2 separate regions of the Homo sapiens genome follow, and region 2 is linked to region 1. The links are contacts of gene promoters, found by promoter capture Hi-C in human tissues and cell types (Jung and others, 2019). All regions are on one chromosome and are shown on one strand. The core of a region is centred on a gene start or on the middle of the fragment in contact, and the rest is flanking DNA. Distances in the headings are between cores, read along the strand shown. Region 1 holds the start of GPR22 (G protein-coupled receptor 22). Region 2 overlaps COG5 (component of oligomeric golgi complex 5).

Evidence for each region. The method cuts DNA at HindIII sites, captures the fragments that hold promoters and counts their contacts. A contact is called where the count stands out against the background at its distance.
Region 2: a fragment that was not itself captured here is called in contact with the fragment with the promoter of GPR22 in region 1 in 1 of the 25 tissues and cell types used here (IMR-90 fibroblasts).

Annotation. Positions count from the first base shown.
Region 1 is chr7:107,466,675-107,474,615 of GRCh38, forward strand. GPR22 (G protein-coupled receptor 22) reads left to right here and starts at 3,383. Exons shown (of 3, transcript NM_005295.3): 1 at 3,383-3,771; 2 at 4,698-5,628; 3 at 7,361-7,941. The coding sequence starts at 7,387. All of the region lies in intron 6 of COG5 (component of oligomeric golgi complex 5), which reads right to left. The HindIII fragment of the contact is 7,138 bases long and covers 1-6,867 here.
Region 2 is chr7:107,508,572-107,516,512 of GRCh38, forward strand. All of the region lies in intron 6 of COG5 (component of oligomeric golgi complex 5), which reads right to left. Among named protein-coding and RNA genes, the nearest start is that of GPR22, 42 kb to the left of the region's middle. RefSeq lists an enhancer at 1-374. The HindIII fragment of the contact is 4,703 bases long and covers 2,173-6,875 here.

The DNA.
Region 1 (7,941 bases), core at 2,133-4,632:
AAATGTAAAGTTGAGAAGCCAAATAAAATCTCTGAATTGGCATTAAAGCAAAATAAACCTTTTTTCTATGGGCTCCAGTATCAGAGAGAGTTCAAGGTTTACTACGCTAAGTATCCACTGAAAAAGGACCCTTGTCGCAATACAGCTTAAAACTGATTTTCAGCAATTAAAAATTGTTTGTACATAGATACCTTAAAATTGTTTCAAAGTACTTTCAGTTATGGTGAATTCCAATATTTCACAAAGCTGAGTTTTTATTTACAAACTCAGAGAATCTTCAAAACTGTGGCATCAGAACTAGCCACAAGCTGGGTAAGAATGATTTGATATGAATAGTACAATGTAAATATACAATAAATTACTCTGTCATAGTCACGGTTGTCAAAATTTAAGAAAACAAATACATAAAATTAGTTAGAGACTTCCCATAGGAGGAATTAAAACAGATATGCAATTAAAATATTTATAACTAAAAAGAAAAGCACGACTTTTAAAAAAGGATTTTAATTGAGCTGTATTTTGGGGTTAGAATCATATCTAGTGCTTAGTTATTATTAGGAAGTCAAACTGCTCTCCTAGGTTAGTATATAAAGGTTATATTAATTGCACAAAATATATTAAATGCACAAGTGTGAGTGTTACTACGGAAACAAGGATCTTCATAAATTGATAATCTGAAATTATTATTATTTTTTTTTTGAGACCTAGTCTCACCTTGTTGCCCAGGCTGGAGGGGTAGCGGTGCAATCGCAGCTCACTGCAATCTCTGCCACCCAGGTTCAAGCGATTCTCATTCCTCAACCTCGCGAGGAGCTGGACTAGAGGCTTGTGCCACCATGCCTAATTTTTGTATTTTTTGTAGAGACAGGGTTTCACCATGTTGGCCAGACTGGTCTCGAACTCCTGACCTCAAGTGATCCACCCGCCTCAGCCTCCCAAAGTGCTGGGATTACAGGTGAGAGCCACTGCACCCGGTCTGTAATTAATTTTTTTCATGAAAATAATATAATCTGATTCTCAATCAGTAGTTGAGATATTTGCATATTTGTTAAAAACAGGGGAAGTTGGAATTACCTTGTTAAGATTTCGGCATACCTTGTTAATCACCAATTTGTGGTTTTTAAAAAGGAAATAAAATTATACTAAGCACTGTACACAATAAAAAAAGTTTGTGATATCTTATTTATCCTTGGAGACAAGTTACTCATACAGAAAATAAAGAGCACTGTCTGTGCTCGAGCTACCATTATGGCTCAGAAACCCCAGATTTTGTTTTTTTGAAATAATCTGAATATAACTTGAAAACACTGTCTCACAAAGAGTTAAACAAAGCACAAAAATATACTTCAACAAAAGGAATCAAAGTTGACCCAAAGGATGTTTGACTTGCCAAAAGTTATATAGGTAATAAATAGCAACTAAATCTAGATTATCCAATTCTAAGTCCCAAGACCTTCATAATTTTCCAAAGAGAGAAGGCCAACCGCCTAGTACAGCGTGGTTTGCAGTTTTAACATTGACTCTGCTGCTAACTTACCTTGACCCTTTCAAGTCAGTAAATTTCTCTGTACCTTTGTTTCTTCTACTTCATGGGGATATTCTGATGATAAACATAAGCAAATACTTGAACTCTGGCAGAAAAGCACTCTGCTGTGTTAATAATCTCCTCATCCCCATCACATATTTCCACTGATGCTATGCTTTCTCTGGTCTTAGTTTTAAGCTTAAATGAATGTGTGTGCTGTGGTGTGTGTGTGTGTGTGTGTGTTTCGGTGTGTGTAAGTTTTCTTTATAAATGGCTGGCATTCTAGCAAGATCCTTTTCCCCAACTTTCAAAACGCATGAATAGCAGCACAACATTTTCATTTTTAGAATTACCAAAGCCTTGCCACCCAAAGCTGTGCAGAAGATTTTAGAAATTCACAACAAAATTTTCCACCATATTACTCTCAACTTCTATAGAAATGCAACTCACAACTCATATTGGTCAGCTATTCCCCTATAAAGATTCAACACTACCAGTGGAAGATTATAAAAATGCATACGGCTTTTCAAATAATAAGAGAATAGTTCCAATTGCAAATAAAAACCAGTATACATTTTGAAAAATGAAGGTCACTAAATATTCCTAAAATAATGGAAACAGGTGATAATTAACATTCTAACAGTTTAGCCACATGTAATGTCCTCTATTTTGTCAACAGAGTCCAGCTGTTTTATCTACTTAAGTCTAAAAGAAATTTATCCTCATCATTAAAAACAGGAACTTATTTATAGGTAACTAAAATTAACAGAAATTTAATTTTAAATATTTTAATTTTATTTTTAATATTAAATTTAATTTAAATTTAATTTAATTTAAAATTTTTAATTTAAATATTTAAATATTTAATTTTAAATATTCAGTACTTGTACCATTATTTTCATTTTGAAAATGTATCTATCTTATAATGATTTGGCTTTATAACTTATAAAGACATGTAACTTACTTTATCCTTTAAAATAATATTTTACTAACAATATTAGCGTGTAGCTACATATCATATTTAAGAAACAGCAATCTACTAAGAAATGTGCCCAGGTCAAAAATAGAATAAGCCAATTGAAATAAAATATTATAGCAAATGATCAGTATACATCTACCAAATAAAAGGGTTATGAAAGGTGAAGACCAAGTAGTAATCTCCAAAAGTAATACAATGATTACTGATTGAAGTTTTATACCCGAGACTAAGCTACTATAATGAAATGTTTAAAAAATATTTTAGGGTATTATCACCTTAGGTCAATCTGATTATTATTTTGAATGAATGAATGAATGAAATGAATGAATACCCAAATGAATGAATACTGAAGTCATGACAATGTTTAACACCTTGAGATGCTCACAACAATTTGGAATACCCAGAGAAGATGACTTGAATACAAACAAACTATTTAAAATTCACTGTGGCTCACAGTAAAGATGCAGTGGGTTTCTATTTGTAGAACAAAGAATCTCAATCAAAAACCTATATATGACTAAAATATTCTCAAATGCAATTATCAAGGCTTTAGAAAGCATATATACTTTTTACTATGTAATTCTTTCCTGTTCCCCCACCTCCCTGCATTTTTTTTTAATGTTTGGCATAAGTGACCAACAAACCAGAATAGAATACACATTTTTAAAATACTAATTTACACATATTCTATTTAAGAACAACATACAACCACTCATAAATTTAGCCTTTTTAAAAGTGTCCTTTATATAAAACAGTGGGGAGCGGGGGAAATCCCTGCTATACATATGAAGCACAGTTTAAGCCCAATACAACTGACCAATCAAAATTAGTGAATACACTGCATCTCTCTGCAGTGGAGAGAAGCGACAAGGTAGGCTGTCATTCTGCAAAAGCTGCCCGAACAGGCTTTCCTCTGAAAAGCAGTGCCGTTCCTTTTTAGAAAGACTGAATCTAAATGTTGTCTCTGGAGACAAGAAGCCTTCAGTATGTTAAATTACTTTCATTATGTATTTTCAGATGCTTATTGATTCCACAGTAGGAAGAGTGAGAGACTGCAGCAGCCTCTAAGCAGCACTACATGTTCCATACATTAGCAGTACTGCTGAAACAATGGCACACTACAGACACATATTTTCATTAAGGTCATTTTCGAAGAGATGTTTATGACCCTCTTCCCCCAGTCCTCTACTAACAAGTGAACAAAATGAATCAATCCAAACTGGAAATGCTTCAACTACATCAAGAATTTATCAAATCTTTAGCAGAGGTAAGATTTGTTCCTATTATAGTATACAGCTGCTTTTGAACCGGCATAGTGGGGTAAAAATTACTTTGAAAAATTTCAGCCTAAATTTTAAGAGTTTGTTTAATTCTACTTATTGCTAGACATGTATTTTAAGATCTATTTCTTTTAAGACATGCTACATTTTAAATGTAATTTTTTAGGATGCATTGTTAAATACAAATATTCTTTGTAAATTCATTATGAAGACAGCTTTTGAGTCACTTCAGATATACTAAATATTCTTAATGTAATCAGTACAGTTTTTCTCCAGTGTTTCAAAAATGCTTCTGTTTCTTAAAAGAACTAGGTTTACTATTTTGCTGTTACTTATTACTTAATTTTATGTTAAGTTTATTATTTGGCATGTTCACTGAAAATTAATTTGCAGTTACAATTTTTATTACCTTTTGTATTTCAACCACATGAACAATTCATCAATGGAAATTTATAGTATCTTATGAAATCTGTTTTAATGAGTTAAAATTCAAACCATGTGCTAATAATTAGGCAAGTTACAATATTTTTAGAGCAAAAAATGTTGTTAAATTTATTACAAAGAAGAAATAACAGTATGTTTAGTGTATGCTAATTGTTCATCATCTCTGAAAATACAGGTTAGCTTCTAAAATGAGAGCAGAAATTAGTTTTAAAAAATATAGCTTTTCTCTCACAATTGTATTTGAAATGTGAACTCTATTGTTAAATAACATAATATATACAATCTTTATTAGGAAAAAAGACTTATTTAAAGAAACAATTTTATGCATATAGCTGTGGCTCTAATAATAACAGTTTGGTTATTTTGATAACAAATACTGGATAGTTTTTAAACAAAACTAAAGTAACTTGCAATTAATTACAAATTATTAAAAACCCTATTTCTTAACCAATTTTCTTCTTTTCACAAGGGCCAATAGCAGCTAATTCAGTATTTACAACTGACAATATGAAGAATGCAATTGACTGAGCATCTCCCTAGCTGTCTGAACTACGAACTGCAAGATGTTCTTGTAACACGACTTTAAGACATTAAGGAGTTAAAACCAGGGAATAGGTCTACATTACTGATGGAATATAAAAAATCAACTGTATCCTAAGAAGATGCTACATAAAATAACCACAAAAAGAAAAACAATATAACTGTAAAAGCCTGAAAAGAATTTTTAAAAGGGGAAGTTTATACTTTCATATACCAGAATTGTGGAAGTTACTGATTCTGGAAGACATAATGAAACATGAATTTCCAAAAAGAAAAGAAAATACTTTATCAGCACACAAAAGGAAGATTTAGGAAGTGTTTTCTGCACTAAATATTCAGATATTCATATCAATTGGTATGACTAATGGATTTTTCTATCTGACTTTTATGACCAATTATGTATCCTCTTCTAATGAAAACAAACAAAATTAAACAGCAGATGGTTTTTATCAAAAGGACATGGCCTGGATTTATAATATAAAGCAAGTTATGTGATCAAGAAATCATTTCAAAATAGTGAGCACTGCTATTAAAAACAGATTTACAATGGTAACAAAAGGATGTCTAAATATATTTTAGAAGCTACAAACGTTATGTTTCCTTTTTTGTTTTCACATATTCTGGAAAATAAAGAAATATTATCATGTACTCCATCAAAGGGAAACATAATTCCTATCATCTGAGGAAATTCCTCTTGGCCGTGACTTTTTAAAGCAAAACAAATACAAATATTATGTACTGTTCTTTAGAAATCCATCAGCCAACTAAATCTCATAATGCATGCAGTTGAAGTATTGGAGAGAAAACGAAAGAATTCCTACAAGACATGAAATAAAACACAGCTACTTCACTGTTGTCAGGTAAAAATTCATGTCAAAATCTGTCAATGATATCATGTATCAATTTGCCAAAAACTGTCATAGTGAACCAAAAGGCCCATAAGGCAACAGCAAACAGGTAGGTCAGAAGATGCATGCACCCCACCACACTGTTTAACATTTACGAAAGAACAGAATCTTGCTCTAGAGAAAATGTATTTTTCTTAATCATCATTTAACTTGACATTTCTGCTTTATTTAATTATAAATCTAACTGATGTGACAAAGACCTGATGTTTAATCTGTCAGTTCAGAAAATTTGGCACACTTAAAATTTTCCATTTTTATAGGATTTCAATGTTAGCTAAGACCTTAACTTACTCGAATAAATATACCTCTAGTAATACTTCATACTAATTCAAAAGAAATAATGTTACCATTTGTGTTTCTGCAATATTATTCCCAAAAAAGTTCATAAATAAAACTGTATTCTAAAACTTGTCAAATATAACATTAAGTGAAAGTTAACATGAATTTTGAAAATTATTAGCTTTTATAATTTATGTTGAATATGATTTTGCAGTTGAAATGCTGTATTTGAAATGTGAAATATAGTTGGTTGTATGAGTTCATATTTTAAAATGAATATACTGATTAACTGACATTTTAGCCCAGAACATTAGACATTATTTTTTACAAATTATTCTAAACCCCTATATATTAAAATATAGATTTGCATGAATTAGCAAAAGCGTTTGTATTTTTTTTTAATTTTTCTTCAAAATTAGACAATGGGTGATATATACAAAAGGCTTCACAGGTAATGTGTAACTTTAAAAGCTTCCTCAAAAAACGGGCTTCACATACTCCTTTTCCCTAAAATTTCATCTTTTACTTTAAAAACTCAGTTTAAACAATGTCAACTGATATATTCCTTTAAACTACTTCAAAAATGGCTATTTCTTAATGTGATATTAAATTTCAATTTTCTGTTTCCACAAGATACAAGAGGGTGTGGTCACAAAATAAATCATTTCATAGGAGTGATTAATGCTCTTTTACCAAGCTTTGTAGCTTTTTATTTTAGCATAATGTCCCACTTCTTCTAATTTTTAAGTTTGCCAACTGCAAAGTTCAGTGAGCATTGTAACTGTGATATGTAAAATATTAATCACTGGCCTATTTCTGTGGGAAATAACCCCAAATATCACCAAGCACATTGTTGACTTCTGAATATGAATTCAATCAACATGGATAAAGCATCTTAAACTAGTGCTCTGTACCATTTGTCATTTTAAATGAACACTTGTCCTGTTCATTTGAAATCTCACAGGAATAATTACACCTACACTCATTATGCTAGAGCATATTAAAATAGCATTCATTTGGTACCTACTCACAACATTTAAATGAAATTTTAAGACACTGGGCTGAAATTAATTTTGTATGCTAGGAAGTTTTATCATACAAAAATACACTTTATCTCAAATAATAAGCTTGAAATACTCAAATGAGAAAAGCCCTTTAGCATATTAACTTTGCACTACAGAGGAACAATTTCCATAGTTATTTCTTCAAAAGGAAAACACAATTTTCTTTTATATCAAAACAATGCAAACTTGATGGTTCTTAATTCTACATTTTCTATTAATAGTTTACAAACTTAAAAATTAAACTAAGTACACAATTGAAAGATTTTTTTTCTTACAAAGAACACGTTATACGTCATTTAAATTGCCAAATATCAAATAGTTTATTCTATTTCACTTTCTAGGGAAAAAAACCAACTGCTCCAAAAGAATGTGTTTTTCTCCCATTCTGGAAATCAACATGCAGTCTGAATCTAACATTACAGTGCGAGATGACATTGATGACATCAACACCAATATGTACCAACCACTATCATATCCGTTAAGCTTTCAAGTGTCTCTCACCGGATTTCTTATGTTAGAAATTGTGTTGGGACTTGGCAGCAACCTCACTGTATTGGTACTTTACTGCATGAAATCCAACTTAATCAACTCTGTCAGTAACATTATTACAATGAATCTTCATGTACTTGATGTAATAATTTGTGTGGGATGTATTCCTCTAACTATAGTTATCCTTCTGCTTTCACTGGAGAGTAACACTGCTCTCATTTGCTGTTTCCATGAGGCTTGTGTATCTTTTGCAAGTGTCTCAACAGCAATCAACGTTTTTGCTATCACTTTGGACAGATATGACATCTCTGTAAAACCTGCAAACCGAATTCTGACAATGGGCAGAGCTGTAATGTTAATGATATCCATTTGGATTTTTTCTTTTTTCTCTTTCCTGATTCCTTTTATTGAGGTAAATTTTTTCAGTCTTCAA
Region 2 (7,941 bases), core at 3,274-5,773, 43 kb after region 1:
AGACTGCCTCCTCAAGTGGGTCCGTGACCCCCGAGCAGCCTAACTGGGAGGCACCCCCCAGTAGGGGCACACTGACACCTTACACGGCCGGGTACTCCTCTGAGACAAAACTTCCAGAGGAACGATCAGGCAGCAGCATTTGCGGTTCACCAACATCCACTGTTCTACAGCCACCGCTGTTCTGCAGCCACCGCTGCTGATACCCAGGCAAACAGGGTCTGGAGTGGACCTCTAGCAAACTCCAACAGACCTGTAGCAGAGGGTCCTGTCTGTTAAAAGGAAAACTACCAAACAGAAAGGACATCCACACCAAAAACCCTTCTGTACATCACCAACATCAAAGACCAAAAGTAGATAAAGCCACAAAGATGGGAAAAAAACAAAGCAGAAACACTGGAAACCCTAAAAATCAGAGCGCCTCTCCTCCTCCAAAGGAACGCAGCTCCTCACCAGCAATGGAACAAAGCTGGAAGGAGAATGACTTTGACGTGTTGAGAGAAGAAGGCTTCAGAAGATCAAACTACTCTGAGCTAAAGGAGAAAGTTCGAACCAATGGCAAAGAAGTTAAAAACCTTGAAAAAAAAGTAGACGAATGGCTAACTAGAATAACCAATGCAGAGAAGTCCTTAAAGGAGCTGAGGTAGCTGAAAGCCAAGGCTCAAGAACTACGTGAAGAATGCAGAAGCCTCGGGAGCTGATGCGATCAACTGGAAGAAAGGGTACCAGTGATGGAAGACGAAATGAATGAACTGAAGCGAGAAGGGAAGTTTAGAGAAAAAAAGAATAAAAAGAAATGAACAAAGCCTCCAAGAAATATGGGACTATGTGAAAAGACCAAGTCTACGTCTGATTGGTGTACCTGAAAGTGATGGGGAGAATGGAACCAAGTTGGAAAACACTCTGCAGGATATTATCCAGGAGAACTTCCCCAATCTAGCAAGGCAGGCCAACATTCAGATTCAGGAAATACAGAGAACGCCACAAAGATGCTCCTCGAGAAGAGCAACTCCAACACACGTAATTGTCAGATTCACCAAAGTTGAAATGAAGGACAAAATGTTAAGGGCAGCCAGAGAGAAAGGTCGGGTTACCCACAAAGGGAAGCCCATCAGACTAACAGCGGATCTCTCGGCAGAAACTCTACAAGCCAGAAGAGAGTGGGGACCAATATTCAACATTCTTAAAGAAAAGAATTTTCAACCCAGAATTTTCATATCCAGCCAAACTAAGCTTCATAAGTGAAGGGGAAATAAAATCCTTTACAGACAAGCAAATGCTGAGAGATTTTGTCACCACCAGGCCTGCCCTAAAAGAGCTCCTGAAAGAAGCACTAAACATGGAAAGGAACAACCGGTACCAGCCACTGCAAAAACATGACAAAATGTAAAGACCATCAAGGCTAGGAAGAAACTGCATCAACTAACGAGCAAAATAACCAGCTAACATCATAATGACAAGACCAAATACACACATAACAATATTAACCTTAAATGTAAATGGGCTAAATGCTCCAATTAAAAGACACAGACTGACAAACTGGATAGAGTCAAGACCCATCAGTGTGCTGTATTCAGGAAACCCATCTCACGTGCAGAGACACACATAGGCTCAAAATAAAGGGATGGAGGAAGATCTACCAAGCAAATGGAAAACAAAAAAAGGCAGGGGTTGCAATCCTAGTCTCTGATAAAACAGACTTTAAACCAACAAAGATCAAAAGAGACAAAGAAGGCCATTACATAATGGTAAAGGGATCAATTCAACAAGAAGAGCTAACTATCCTAAATGTATATGCACCTAATACAGGACAACCCAGATTCATAAAGCAAGTCCTTAGTGACCTACAAAGAGACTTAGACTCCTACACAATAATAACGGGAGACTTTAACAACCCACTGTCAACATTAGACAGATCAACGAGACAGAAAGTTAAAAAGGATACCCAGGAATTGAACTCAGCTCTGCACCAAGCGGACCTAATAGACATCTACAGAACTCTCCACCCTAAATCAACAGAATATACATTCTTTTCAGCACCACACCACACCTATTCCAAAATTGACCACATAGCTGGAAGTAAAGCACTCCTCAGCAAATGTAAACAGAAATTATAACAAACTGTCTCTCAGACCACAGTGCAATCAAACTAGAACTCAGGATTAAGAAACTCACTCAAAACCGCTCCACTACATGGAAACTGAACAACCTGCTCCAGAATGACTACTGGGTACATAACGAAATGAAGGCAGAAATAAAGATGTTCTCTGAAACCAACGGAAACAAAGACACAACATACCAGTATCTCTGGCACACATTCAAAGCAGTGTGTAGAGGGAAATTTATAGCACTAAATGCCCACAAGAGAAAGCAGGAAAGATCCAAAATTGACACCCTAACGTCACAATTAAAAGAACTAGAAAAGCAAGAGCAAACACATTCAAAAGCTAGCAGAAGGCAAGAAATAACTAAAATCAGAGCAGAACTGAAGGAAATAGAGACACAAAATACCGTTCAAAAAATTAATGAATCCAGGAGCTGGTTTTTTGAAAAGATCAACAAAACTGATAGACTGCTAGCAAGACTAATAAAGAAGAAAAGAGAGAAGAATCAAATAGATGCAATAAAAAATGATAAAGGGGATATCACCACCGATCCCACAGAAATACAAACTACCATCACAGAATACTACAAACACCTCTACGCAAATAAACTAGACAATCTAGAAGAAATGGATAAATTCCTCGACACATACACCATCCCAAGACTAAAACAGGAAGAAGTTGAATCTCTGAATAGACCAATAACAGACTCTGAAATTGTGGCAATAATCAATAGCTTACCAACCAAAAAAAGTCCAGGAGCAGATGGATTCACAGCCAAATTCTACCAGACGTACAAGGAGGAGCTGGTACCATTCCTTCTGAAACTATTCCAATCAATAGAAAAAGAGGGAATCCTCCCTAACTCACTTTATGAGGCCAGCATCATCCTGATACCAAAGCCTGGCAGAGACACAACAAAAAAAGAGAGTTTTAGACCAATATCCTTGATGAACGCTGATGCAAAAATCCTCAATACAATACTGGCAAACCGAATCCAGCAGCACATCAAAAAGCTTATCTACCATGATCAAGTGGGCTTCATCCCTGGGATGCAAGGCTGGTTTAACATATGAAAATCAATAAATGTAATCCAGCATATAAACAGAACCAAAGACAAAAACCACACGATTATCTCAATAGATGCAGAAAAGGCCTTTGACAAAATTCAACAACACTTCATGCTAAAAACTCTCAATAAATTAGGTATTGATGGGACATATCTCAAAATAATAAGAGCTATCTATGACACATCCACAGCCAATATCATACAGAATGGGCAAAAACTGGAAGCATTCCCTTTGAAAGCTGGCACAAGACAGGGATGCCCTCTCTCACCACTCCTATTCAACATAGTGTTGGAAGTTCTGGCCAGGGCAATTAGGCAGGAGAAGGAAATAAAGGGTATTCAATTAGGAAAATAGGAAGCCAAATTGTCCCTGTTTGCAGATGACATGATTGTATATCTAGAAAACCCCACTGTCTCAGCCCAAAATCACCTTAAGCTGATAAGCAACTTCAGCAAAGTCTCAGGATACAAAATCAATGTGCAAAAATCACAAGCATCCTTATACACCAATAACAGACAAACAGAGAGCCAAATCATGAGTGAACTCCCATTCACAATTGCTTCAAAGAGAATAAAATACCTAGGAATCTAACTTACAAGGGATGTGAAGGACCTCTTCAAGGAGAACTACAAGCCACTGCTCAGTGAAATAAAAGAGGACACAAACAAATGGAAGAACATTCCATGCTCATGGGTAGGAAGAATCAATATCGTGAAAATGGCCATACTGCCCAAGGTAATTTATAGATTCAATGCCATCCCCATCAAGCTACCAATGACTTTCTTCACAGAATTGGAAAAAACTACTTTAAACTTCATATGGAACCAAAAAAGAGCCCACATTGCCAAGTCAATCCTAAGCCAAAAGAACAAAGCTGGAGGCATCATGCTACCTGACTTCAAACTATACTACAAGGCTACAGTAACCAAAGCAGCATGGTACTGGTACCAAAACAGAGGTATAGACCAATGGAACAGAACAGAGCCCTCAGAAATAATGCCGCATATCTACAACCATCTGATCTTTGACAAACCTGACAAAAACAAGCAATGGGGAAAGGATTCCCTATTTAATAAATGGTGCTGGGAAAACTGGCTAGCCATATGTAGAAAGCTGAAACTGGATCCCTTCCTTACACCTTATACAAAAATTAATTCAAGATGGATTAAAGACTTACATGTTAGACCTAAAACCATAAAAACCCTAGAAGAAAACCTAGGCAATACCATTCAGGATATAGGCATGGGCAAGGACTTCATGTCTAAAACACCAAAAGCAATGGCAACAAAAGACAAAATTGACAAATGGGATCTAATTAAACTAAAGAGCTTCTACACAGCAAAAGAAACTACCATCAGAGTGAACAGGCAACCTACAAAATGGGAGAAAATTTTTGCAACCTACTCATCTGACAAAGGGCTAATATCCAGAATCTACAATGAACTCAAACAAATTTACAAGAAAAAAACAGACAACCCCATCAAAAAGTGGGCAAAGGATATGAACAGACACTTCTCAAAAGAAGACATTTATGCAGCCAAAAGACACATGAAAAAATGCTCATCATCACTGGCCATCAGAGAAATGCAAATCAAAACCACAATGAGATACCATCTCACACCAGTTAGAATGGCGATCATTAAAAAGTCAGGAAACAACAGGTGCTGGAGAGGATGTGGAGAAATAGCAACACTTTTACACTGTTGGTGGGACTGTAAACTAGTTCCACCATTGTGCAAGTCAGTGTGGCGATTCCTCAGGGATCTAGAACTAGAAATACCATTTGACCCAGCCATCCCATTACTGGGTATATACCCAAAGGATTATAAATCACACTGCTATAAAGACACATGCACACGTATGTTTACTGTGGCACTATTCACAATAGCAAAGACTTGGAACCAACCCAAATGTCCAACAATGATAGACTGGATTAAGAAAATGTGGCACATATACACCATGGAATACTATGCAGCCATAAAAAATGAAGAGTTCATGTCCTTTGTAGGGACATGGATGAAGCTGGAAACCATCATTCTCAGCAAACTATTGCAAGGACAAAAAACCAAACACCATATCTTCTCACTGATAGGTGGGAACTGAACAATGAGAACACATGGACACAGGAAGGGGAACATCACACTCCGGGGACTGTTGTGGGGTGGGGGAAGAGGGGAGGGAAAGCATTAGGAGATATACCTAATGCTAAATGACGAGTTAATGGGTGCAGCACACCAACATGGCACATGTATACATATGTAACAAACCTGCACATTGTGCACATGTACCCTAAAACTTAAAGTATAATAATAATAAAATAAAATAAAATAAAAGAATATTCTCTCATGACACGTGGTGTTAATATATTGCAGCTAGGCAATAAAAATGTAAAACTCAGAAAATAGACCATAAGCGATTAAAATTAGTAGAGGAAATATTTTCTATCATATCCAATTGCTTGATTATACTTTTAAAAAATGATTCTTCAATAATGCAATAAAGCTTTAAAATAGAATATTAAGTTACTAACAACAGTCAACCCACAATCCTAACATAAAATACATTTTCTATATAAACATGGCCTATTTTACACACACACACACACACACACACACACACACACACACACATATTTTATATTTTGGTTTATTATGAGGTTATAGCTCAATCAGAAGTCATTTTCTCATTTTCACTTAATTATAATATACATTTAAACCTATTTTGTATAAAGTATTCTTAGAAAGTACAATAATAATGTGATTTTTTTAAAGGACACTGGGAGACCTACCAATAGCAGAAATCCCTTTTATGAAGCAATTAAATGCTGCCACAGAGTTTAAGAAAAGAGTATAGCATTGGTGGTTTACCAGCTCAGGCTTTAGAATCAGATTTTTACAGATACACCAGATGGGTGTCCTTAGGACCCACTGGAATATACATTCTACAAAGGGTAGGGGGTTTCTGTTTTGTTCAGTGTCTTGTGTTTTCAGTGTCTGGAATAGCACATAGCACACATAGTAGATATTCAATAAACAATGGCTGAATAAGTAAATGAATTTTTCCAAGTTTTATGATAAAAGAATGACCAAAGTTTTTTTTATTGTTACTTCATGCAAAGTGCAGATGAGCCAAAATAGGAAGACTAGGCAGAGACTGGTTTACCCCATGGATATTATCATCATCATCATCAATATATTGTTGTTGTCATTATCAGTTTTATGCTGAGTTTATAGATAAGGACAGATCTTACACTTCTCAAACACAGAAACTGCATTTTACTCACTCTGTAGGAGATTCTAACAAGCTACAGGGCTTATGTATATTGAAACCTAATTGTTTGATAAATAAATTAAACGAATTATAAATCATGATTTTCATAAACAGACTAAAGAGTATTCATTCATGAAGGTATGGTCTGGTTACTTTATGGGAAATTTTTCCTCCTTTAATCTCTATTTGTAGGATAAGTCAAAAATAGATTAGATAATACTAAATAGCTACCTAGAATTAATGTTATCATGAGACTCAATATGTGGGATATAGATATATTATTGATGAAAACTAAAAATCTTGCTAGATATATAAGCAGACTTCATAAAACGAAGAGATTGATTCAGCCAAGAACATTAAAAAAAAGATACAAAGTTTATCACGGTAACCTATACATTTCAACCATAAATATACTAACAATTCTGTTTTCACAAGTGGGATTAGTAGAGAATCGTTCTAACATTCGAGAGACTAAATGCATTAATATACAGAATTGGGAAAATTTCAGAAGGATGAGTTGTCATTATGGTGTATAAGAGATACAGTCATCCTCACCCTCCTGTGAATCCCATATTCCATTTCCCCTCAAAAGCAGAGTATCCATCGATGGGAGGTGGAGAGGAGAATGATGAATCCTTCCTGCCTCAATTGAGGACTTTAATGTAAAAGCTGGGCTGTCAAAGAAACTCCCTACAAATCATCCTTCTTTTACTCTTGTTGCTAGCCTCTTTTTCATTATCTTTTGATTTACTGTTAGTCAAATTAATGCCCTCTTTAGAACAAGTCAGGCAATAAAATATCTATAAACAATTATTAAATCAATTCTCAGTATAGCAAAATAAAGTTTCTAAGCCAGAAAGAGTAAGAAAGAGAACAGATCCTGGATTATGACAAATTTACCCAGGTAAATACTGTCTCTTGGCAGCCATGAATGTAGTTAAGTACATTACCTTACTCATGCTTAAATAACATCACCACTTTGTAGTAATGCCTATCTAAATTTTCATCTAGTCCCAAGACTCTTCTTAAAGAAAAATCATGAATCTATGTGATATAACTTAATCATTCAATCTACACTTTGTAGTTTTATTTTTTAAACTATTACATAATAACCTGCATTAAAAAGTACAATAAATATGTCTGCACTAAAATAATTCTGCTTATTCTCTGACAATAAGATAATAGTATACTTTTCATTTTCATTTCCCTAATGCCTAACGATGTTGAGCATGTTTACAGATGCGTATCTGTCATCATCTTGGGTGAAGTGTCTGTTCAACTCTTTTGCCTATTTTTTAAGTGGGTTGTTGGAGTTCCTATTAAGTTTTGAGTCTTTTGATATGTCTGGATGCAAGTCCTCTATCAAATATACTTTGCAAATATTTTCTCCTTGTCCACAGTTTGTCTTTTTATTCTCGTAACAGTATCATTTGAAGAGCTTCTTAAATTTTGATGAAATCTAATTTATCAACTTTATTCTCTTGTGAATTGTGCTTTGGGTA